3 separate regions of the Homo sapiens genome follow, and all the other regions are linked to region 2. The links are contacts of gene promoters, found by promoter capture Hi-C in human tissues and cell types (Jung and others, 2019). All regions are on one chromosome and are shown on one strand. Each heading gives the region's core, a stretch centred on a gene start or on the middle of the fragment in contact. The rest is flanking DNA. Distances are from core to core; before and after follow the strand shown. Region 1 overlaps MAPKAP1 (MAPK associated protein 1). Region 2 holds the start of ZBTB43 (zinc finger and BTB domain containing 43). Region 3 overlaps MAPKAP1 (MAPK associated protein 1).

Evidence for each region. Contacts are between HindIII fragments. The study calls those that stand out against the background at their distance.
Region 1: a fragment that was not itself captured here is called in contact with the fragment with the promoter of ZBTB43 in region 2 in 1 of the 25 tissues and cell types used here (dorsolateral prefrontal cortex).
Region 3: a contact is called between a fragment that was not itself captured here and the fragment with the promoter of ZBTB43 in region 2, in 1 of the 25 tissues and cell types used here (dorsolateral prefrontal cortex).

What each region holds. Positions count from the first base shown.
Region 1 is chr9:125,614,707-125,617,406 of GRCh38, forward strand. All of the region lies in intron 4 of MAPKAP1 (MAPK associated protein 1), which reads right to left. Among named protein-coding and RNA genes, the nearest start is that of MAPKAP1, 91 kb to the right of the region's middle. The HindIII fragment of the contact is 4,194 bases long and covers 1-2,700 here.
Region 2 is chr9:126,803,643-126,806,342 of GRCh38, forward strand. ZBTB43 (zinc finger and BTB domain containing 43) reads left to right here and starts at 1,398. Exons shown (of 3, transcript NM_014007.4): 1 at 1,398-1,490. RefSeq lists a silencer at 1,013-1,062 and enhancers at 1,124-1,625, 1,693-1,752, 2,163-2,272, 2,423-2,572. The HindIII fragment of the contact is 16,594 bases long and covers 1-2,700 here.
Region 3 is chr9:125,594,658-125,597,357 of GRCh38, forward strand. All of the region lies in intron 4 of MAPKAP1 (MAPK associated protein 1), which reads right to left. It also overlaps the pseudogene HNRNPA1P15. Among named protein-coding and RNA genes, the nearest start is that of MAPKAP1, 110 kb to the right of the region's middle. The HindIII fragment of the contact is 3,866 bases long and covers 1-2,700 here.

The DNA.
Region 1 (2,700 bases), core at 200-2,699, 1.2 Mb before region 2:
ACATTCAGTACAGTTGAATGTACATGATTTAAAAAGTAATAATTATTGTAGCTAACTAGGAACAGAAAGGACTTTTATTAACCCAACATAGAACATCTGCTAAAATAGGAAATATCCTAAATGGTGAAATATTGGAAACATTTCCTTTGATATCAGAAGCAAGACAATTTCTTTTCAACATGGTATTGTGAAGCAATAAAAAGAATTTTTTAAATTTTCAGCTCTGTAAAGCAAGAAAAATAAAGTATAAGGATTAGAAATAAAACTATCATTATTTGCAAATGACCAACTACACAGAAAACCAAAAAAGGTATAAGTTAATGGAAGTTATAGGAGTTTATTAAGGTTACTGACATTAAATCAATGTCAAAGAAATCAACTACATTTCTATATACCAGCAACAAACCGGAAGACACTATAATTTAAATAAAATCTTGAAAGTAGAATTTAAAAATATATTTAATAATAGGTATATGTGAATCAATCTAACAACAATGACAAACTATATATATATATGACTTCCATGGAGAAAATGATAAAATTTTACTAAAGATATTATAGGTCACTTAAATGATATATCATGTTCAAAATGGTAAAGATGCCAATTCTCCCAAATTGATCTACAAATTTAATCCAACTCTAATCAAAATCTCAGGAATTTTTTTTAACTTGACAAGTGATTTTAAAAATGTATATATGGAAGGGGCTGGGCATGGTGGTTCACACCTGTAATCCCAGCACTTTGGAAGGCCGAGGTGGGTGGATCACCTGAGGTCAGGAGTTCAAGACCAGCCTGGCCAACATGGCAAAACCCCACCTCTACTAAAAATACAAAAAAAAAAAAAAAAAAAAATCAGCCATTGTGTAGCAGGGCAATAGGTTAAGAATATACAAGACACTCACAAATAACAAAAAGGAGGTTGAGGCCTGGCACAGTGGTTCATGTCTGTAATCCCAGCACTCTGGGAGGCCAAGGTGAGTGGATAACTTGAGGTCAGGAGTTCAAGATCAGCCTGGCCAACATGGCGAAACCCCATCTCTACTAAAAATACAAAAATTAGCCAGGTGTAGTGGTGCATGCCTGTAATCCCAGCTACTCAGGAGGCTGAGGCACGAGAATCACTTGATGTTGCAGAGGCGGATGTTGCAGTGAGCCAAGATCACGCTGCTGCACTCCAGCCTGGGCAACAGAGTGGGACTCCGTCTCAGAAAAAAAAAAAAAAGAAAAGAAAAGAGAAAAGGAGGTTGAAGGAGCATGATTTATCAGTTACCAGAAATTGCTTTACATTTAAAGTAATTAAAATAGTGTGATATTAGCACAGGAAAAACCAAATAAACAATTGAAACAGAAAAGTCCAGGAAGAGCAGCACAAACATAGGGAAATTTGATATATGACCAAGCGAGCATGACAAACCAATGGGGAAAGGTGGGACTCAATAAATAATGCCACAACAACTGATTAACCACACAGAAAAAAACAGAAATCAGACCTCTACCTCACTACCACACATGCAAAAAATCAGTTCCAGATGGATTAATTATTTAACTATAAAAACTTTAAATACAATTTGGGAAAATAACTTTATAATCTTGAGGGTAAAGATTTCTTAGAACACAAAAAGCAATAATGAAGCAAAAGACTGATAATTCAATACATTAAAAACAAGAATTTCTGTTCATTAAAAAGCACCAAAAAGAGAATGAAGACAAGTCACAAACCAGGAGAATCTACAACAGTTGCTACCCAATACATAAAAATGGTTAGTATCCAAACATACATTCAAATTTCTTCTTCAAATCAGGAAGAAATTGATTAAAATAGAAAAAAGATTAGAACAAGTAGTTCACACAGAAGAGGAAACATGAATAACCAATAAACACACAAAAAGATGTTCAATTTCAATTATATTCTGAGAAATGCAAATGAAAATCATAATGAGATACAATTTCACACCCATAAGACTAGAAAAAACTAAGTCTGATGTGGGAGCACAACACTGACGCACTGCTGGAGGGGCACACATGGGAATAACCACTTTGTAAGACAGTTTGGCATTATCTATAAGCTGAAGCTGCACATAGATCCCATGACCCTGTAAGTCCATCTGCATGTATTCCCTAACAAAGTTTTCAAACCATGGTCCTGAGGGCTAGGAAATCAATTTAGCCAATTTCAACCAATCTTTTCTTTTAAAATTAAATAAAATAGAATTGATTAGAATAAAAAATAGCATGCATTTGTACTTAGTAAAGGTTAAGTATTTTTCTATGAAAATAGTTTCCATATATCATTTATCTATATGTGCACTTAATATGCATGTTATGTGTTTCTATTTGTGTGTGTGTGAAGTGACAGATATTTTAATTAAATTAATGTAATCATTCCACAATGTATGCATAGATCAAAACTTTCATGTTATACCCCAAAATGTATTTCTTATTACATATGATTCATGGCCAAAATGTTTGTAGATCGGGCACAATGGCACATGCCTGTAATCTCAGAACTTGAGAGGATGAGACAGAAGGATCGCTTAAGCCTTGGAATCTGAGACCAGCGGAGGCAACAAAAGGAGATCCTGTTGCTACAAAATTTTTTTTTAATTAGCCAGGCGTGGTGGCAAGTGCCTAGCGTCCTAGCTACTACTGAGACTGAGTTGGAAAGATTGCTTGAGCCTGGGAGACCTAAGCCACAGTGA
Region 2 (2,700 bases), core at 148-2,647:
GGAGGTTGCAGTGAGCCAAGATTGTGCCACTGCATTCCAGCCTGGGCAACAGAGCAAGAATTCGTCTCCAAAAAAAAACAAAACAAAACAAAACAAAACCACAAGGCGGGGGAGCTGGAGCATACATGTTTGAAGTAGAATCTTTGACAAGCTGTTCTGCATCCACTCCCATTTCTGTGCTTCCATATTTGTTTTCTTTCATTTTGTTTTCTAGAAAAAAAAATTTTTTTGGTAGAATTCTCTAGGAAAGCTACACTCCTGTGTCCTAGGGCCCAACAACAAGCAAGACAGGCATAACAGCTGGGAAACCAATCAGCTTAAACTGAGACAGACAATATCAAACAGGCATGTCAGGCCCCACGAGAACATCCACCCTAAATCCAGAAGGCATTATGACCACATCGCTTCAGCTGCCTGGATTTCAGGTATAAATTAGTTCTTCTACAAAGAGGGCACTTGGTCTGTAAACGGGTCCAAAGGTAAGAGTCCCACCGCTAAAGACCTATCTCTCTTCTACACTAACATGGGGGGGCAGTGGGGAAGAAAGGGGCGAGAAGAGGTATGGAGGTTTTGGGAGGGAGTGGGAGAATTGGAGGCTAGAGAGATCGTTTCTGTCCCACCATCTGTGTGACCCCAGTGCCCAGCACAATGCAGCCCACGGAAAGGCACTGGTCCTTTCATTGACCATTTACTGAGCATCTACTACATGCCAAAAAGCGAGATGGGTGCTGTGAAGGCAGAAACGGATTTGGAGATAATCTCCGCCAGGCATACTGAGGTCAAGGTTTTCGTTCGTTTGTTTAGAGAAGAGACGGAGAAGGTCAAGGTGTTTTTGTTTGTTTTGTTGTTGTTGTTGTTGTTGTTTAAGAGTCTTGCTCTGTGCTCAGGCTGGAGTGCAGCGGCGTGATCTCGGCTCACTGCAACCTCTGCCTCACGGGTTCAGGCAATTCTCCTGTCTCAGCTTCCCAAGTAGCTGGGATTACAGGCGCGCGCAACCACGCTCAGCTAATTTTTGTATGTTTTGTAGAGACAGGGTTTCACCATGTTGGCCAGGATGGTCTCGAACTCCTAGCCTCAAGCGATCATCCCCTCTCGGCCTCCCAAAGTGCAGGGATTACAGACGTGGGCTACCGCGCCTGGCCTATGCCAAGGTTTCAAGAAGGTTTAGAACTCAGTATCTGCTCCCCTATTTTCAACAGCGTAGTCAGTCCCTAAAATTGACCCGCTCCAGAGTGTACTGCGCAGGCGCCCGCTACCTCCGCGCTCTCTCCCGACGCCCAGCTCAGACGGTAAGTCCCGCATGCGCACTCCGCTTTCTCTCTGACGCACCCCCGGAAGCACTGTCAGTTTCGGGGGGCGGGACCGGGAAGCGTTTCCGGGGGCTGAAGGCACAGGCTGAATCTGTTGCGGCAGCTGAGGCTACAACAGGCCTGCGCCGGCGGCAGAGAGGATATCTTGGGCGGGGGATGTGAGCGCTGAGCCCTTGGCAGGTACTGCGTGGCCAGGACCACGGGCGGCAAGGGTAGGGGAGGAGAAGTCGGTGGGGGAGTTAAGGGCTCCTCAGCAGGCCCCGACGCTCGCGCCGCTGGCCCCGCCAGGCCCATTCCGTGGACCGGCATACCAAAGCCCCGCGCGGGAGGTTGGGGTCCCGGCGCTCCAGCTCCGAATCCCGCAGTCTTCTGCCCACACGGCGCGCAGACCGCGATACCGAGGCCTTTGGGGCAGCTTCTCGCCCAAGGTCACCCTCGCGGCGGCGGAGCTCCGCCGGCCACAGCGCTTAGAGATCCCGCCCCCGTCCGTCCGCTGGCCTTTCGGGGCGTAGGGTGGGCGCGGCTTGACGACCTCGGGTTCGAGCCACCAATGCCTGAGGCCTGACGAGCCGAGCTGGGAGAAAGACTGCGCCTGGACTTAGCTGATCTTCTGTTTAAGTAAAACATTCAGCATCCCCTGTTGCTGTCTCTGTCACCTGTTGTAACCTGCCCTTTTTGTCTTTCAGCTAGGTCGCTGTCAACCTGATATTTCTCTCCACTTTGTCTTTGTCGGGGTATCTGGATCCTGTTTTATATCTGTCTCCACCTTGCTTCTGTGTCTGTTCACCCTGTCTCTGCCACTCAGCCCTTACTCTAATTCAGGGCCTGTCAGTCTGGCTTTTTGGCCATCTGTCTGTTTCTCTCTTTCTGCCAACTTTGTTTTTGCCTCTTGTCTCTCTTTCCTGAGTTTGGGTGGGGCAGGGCTGCCCAGACCTCTGAGCCATGGAAGGTGACTCATGACCCCGTGAAGTTCCCTGCACTGGTGACACTCTCAGTGACTCGACCGCAGTTTGGCCTCAACTCTGACAGGTGTCGCCCAACATAAGTGTCAGAGTGCAGGAGAGCCTGTCAGGGAGACAGGAGGCCCATTTTAGGGCCAGAGCAGCTTGATGAGTCCTCTCCTTTTCTCGCCTGTGGTTTCTCAGGCCTGCACAGCTTCCCAAATGCCTTCGCTCTATCCACTCACCACAGGATGGTCTCCAGGGATCTCTGGAGCCTGCTCTTTGAGTTACAGCTGTTTAACAGGCCTGTCTACAGGCTAAGAAAGGATCAGACTGAGGTCTTTGGGGCTACTGGAACAGTAGCAGGGTTTCTGGGATAACTGCATGCTTAGTTCAGAGATTGTGTCAGCATTTTCAGTTAAATTATAAGAAACCTAATAATTGGGAAT
Region 3 (2,700 bases), core at 6-2,505, 1.2 Mb before region 2:
ACTTACAGTTTCACTTTTTTCTGTAACTACCCTCACCACCTCCTTCCCCACACTCTCTCATTCAGCTGTGAATTACATAAAGGGAAAAATAGCCTCATCCATTTTGTATTCTCTTAGAGCCTAGAACACAGCAGGGGTTTCATGCTAGCTGGCTAAATCAAAAGGACTCCTCAGACTCTCTTTCAGAATGGACCCACCGGACCTACCAATTCTCTATCCCAGGTAGAGCAGCTATACCTTTTCTACTTCCCAGCCCCTGTTCTTCAGGAACACTCTTTCCTCTCTGAAATATCCCCAGCACCTAACAAAGGGCCCGACATAGTTACTTACACATACTGATGGAATAAATGATTAATATTCTTTTAACACATGATTTAAACACTTGCATTATATTATAGCATATGGTGGTACCACCTATTCTCCCATTTTTAGAAATGGAAGCTGTTTACAATATTCCATTATTATAAATAATCTCATAAACATTTTCCTATATAAATGTGAAAATATTTCTAGAAGTAGATTACTAAGTCAAAGACTATGAATGTTTTGTAACTTGTGATATATACTGGAAAAGCTCAGTCTTTTAAAAAGTGTCTCTAGGCCAATTATGAAATATCAATACTATGAACCAAAGGTTACCCAATTAATAATTAGCTCATAAAATGGGTAAACTTAAAAATCTAAAATAACTTCTAATACACAGAATGTGAACAGATATAGAATTGAAATGTATGTATTTGAACATGCTGATGAATTAAAACATTATCTAGAGCAGCTTTTCTCAGCTGATCCTATTAATTAAAATAATATACATTAGCTGCTTATCATAAAATTAATTTCAAAATCATATACCTGATAGTTTCCAAAGTAGGAGAAGCAATAAGAATACAGATGGGATTCAGTTCAAAATAATCTTGAATTAAGAAATATCATGCTATGTTTGTCAGCTTACTCCTTTCTGCCTGTGGACACGCCAAGGAAGCATCGTTAAAGTCTCTCTTCTCCCTGCCGTCCTAAGTCAGAGTCTCCTAAAGAGCCGGAACAGCTAAGGAATCTCTTCATTGGAGGGTTGAGCTTTGAAACAACCAATGAGAGCAAGAGGAGCCATTGTGAGCAATGGGGAACGCTCCCAGACTGTGTGGTAATGAAAGATTCCAACACCAAGCGTTCCGGGGGTTTTGGGTTTGTCACCTATGCCACTGTGGAGGAGGTGGATGCAGCCATGAATGCAAGGCCACACAAGGTGGATCGGAGTTGTGGAACCAAAGAGAGCTGTCTCAAGAGAAGATTCTCAAAGACCAGGTGCCCACTTAACTGTGAAAAAGATATTTGTTGGTGGCATTAAAGAAGACACTGAAGAACATCACCTGCGAGATTATTTTGAACAGCGTGGAAAAACTGAAGTGATTGAAATCACGACTGACCGAGGCAGTGGCAAGAAAAGGGGACTTGCCTTTGTAACCTTTGATGGCCACGACTCCGTGGATAAGACTGTCATTCAAAAACACCATACTGTGAATGGCCACAATTGTGAAGTTAGGAAAGCTCTGTCAAAGCAAGAGATGGCTAATACTTCATCCAGCGAAAGAGGTCGAAGTGGTTCTGGAAACTTTGGTGGTGGTCGTGAAGGTGACTTCGGTAGGAATGACAACTTTGGTCATGGAGGAAACTTCAGTGGTTGTGGTGCCTTTGGTGGCAACCATGGTGGTGGTGGATATGGTGGCAGTAGGGATGGCTATAATGGATTTGGTACTGATGGAAGCAATTTTGGAGGGTGGTGGAAGCTACAATGATTCTGGCAATTACAACAATCAGTCTTCAAATTTTGAACCCATGATGAAAGGAAACTTTGGAGGCAGAAGCTCTGGCAGCTATGGTGGTGGAAGCCAGTACTTTCCCAAACCACAAAACCGAGGTGGCTATGGCAGTTCCAGTAGCAGCAGTAGCTACAGCAGTGGCAGAAGATTTTAATTACTGCCAGCAAACAAAGCTTAACAGGAGAGGAGAGCCAGAGAAGTGACAGCGAAGCTACAGGTTACAACAGATTTGTGAACTCAGCCAAGCACAGTGGTGGCAAGGCCTAGCTGCTACAAAGAAGACATGTTTTAGACAAATACTCATGTGTATGGGCAAAAAACTCGAGGACTGTATTTGTGACTAATTGTATAACAGGTTGTTTTAGTTTTTCTTCTGTGGAAAATGTAAAGCATTCCAACAAAGGATTTTAATGTAGATTTCTTTTTTGTACCCATGCTGTTGATTGCTAAATGTAACAGTCTGATCATGACGCTGAATAAATGTGTCTTAAAAAAAAAAAAAAAAAAGGCCAGGCGCGGTGGCTTATGCCTGTAATCCCAGCACTTTGGAGGCCAAGGCGGGCAGATCACGAGGTCAGGAGATCGAGACCATCCTGGCTAACAAAGTGAAACCCTGTCTCTACTAAAACAAATACAAAAAATTAGCCGGGCGTGGTGGTGGGCGCCTGTAGTCCCAGCTACTTGGGAGGCTGAGGCAGGAGAATGGCGTGAACCCAGGAGGTGGAGCTTGCAATGAGCCGAGATCGTGCCACTGCACTCCAGCCTGGACGACAGAGCGAGACTCCGTCTCAAAAAAAAAAAAAAAAAAAAAAAAAAAAGCTTGGCCTGGTGGCACATGTCTGTAGTCCCAGCTACTCAGGAGGCTGAGGTGGGAGGTTCACTT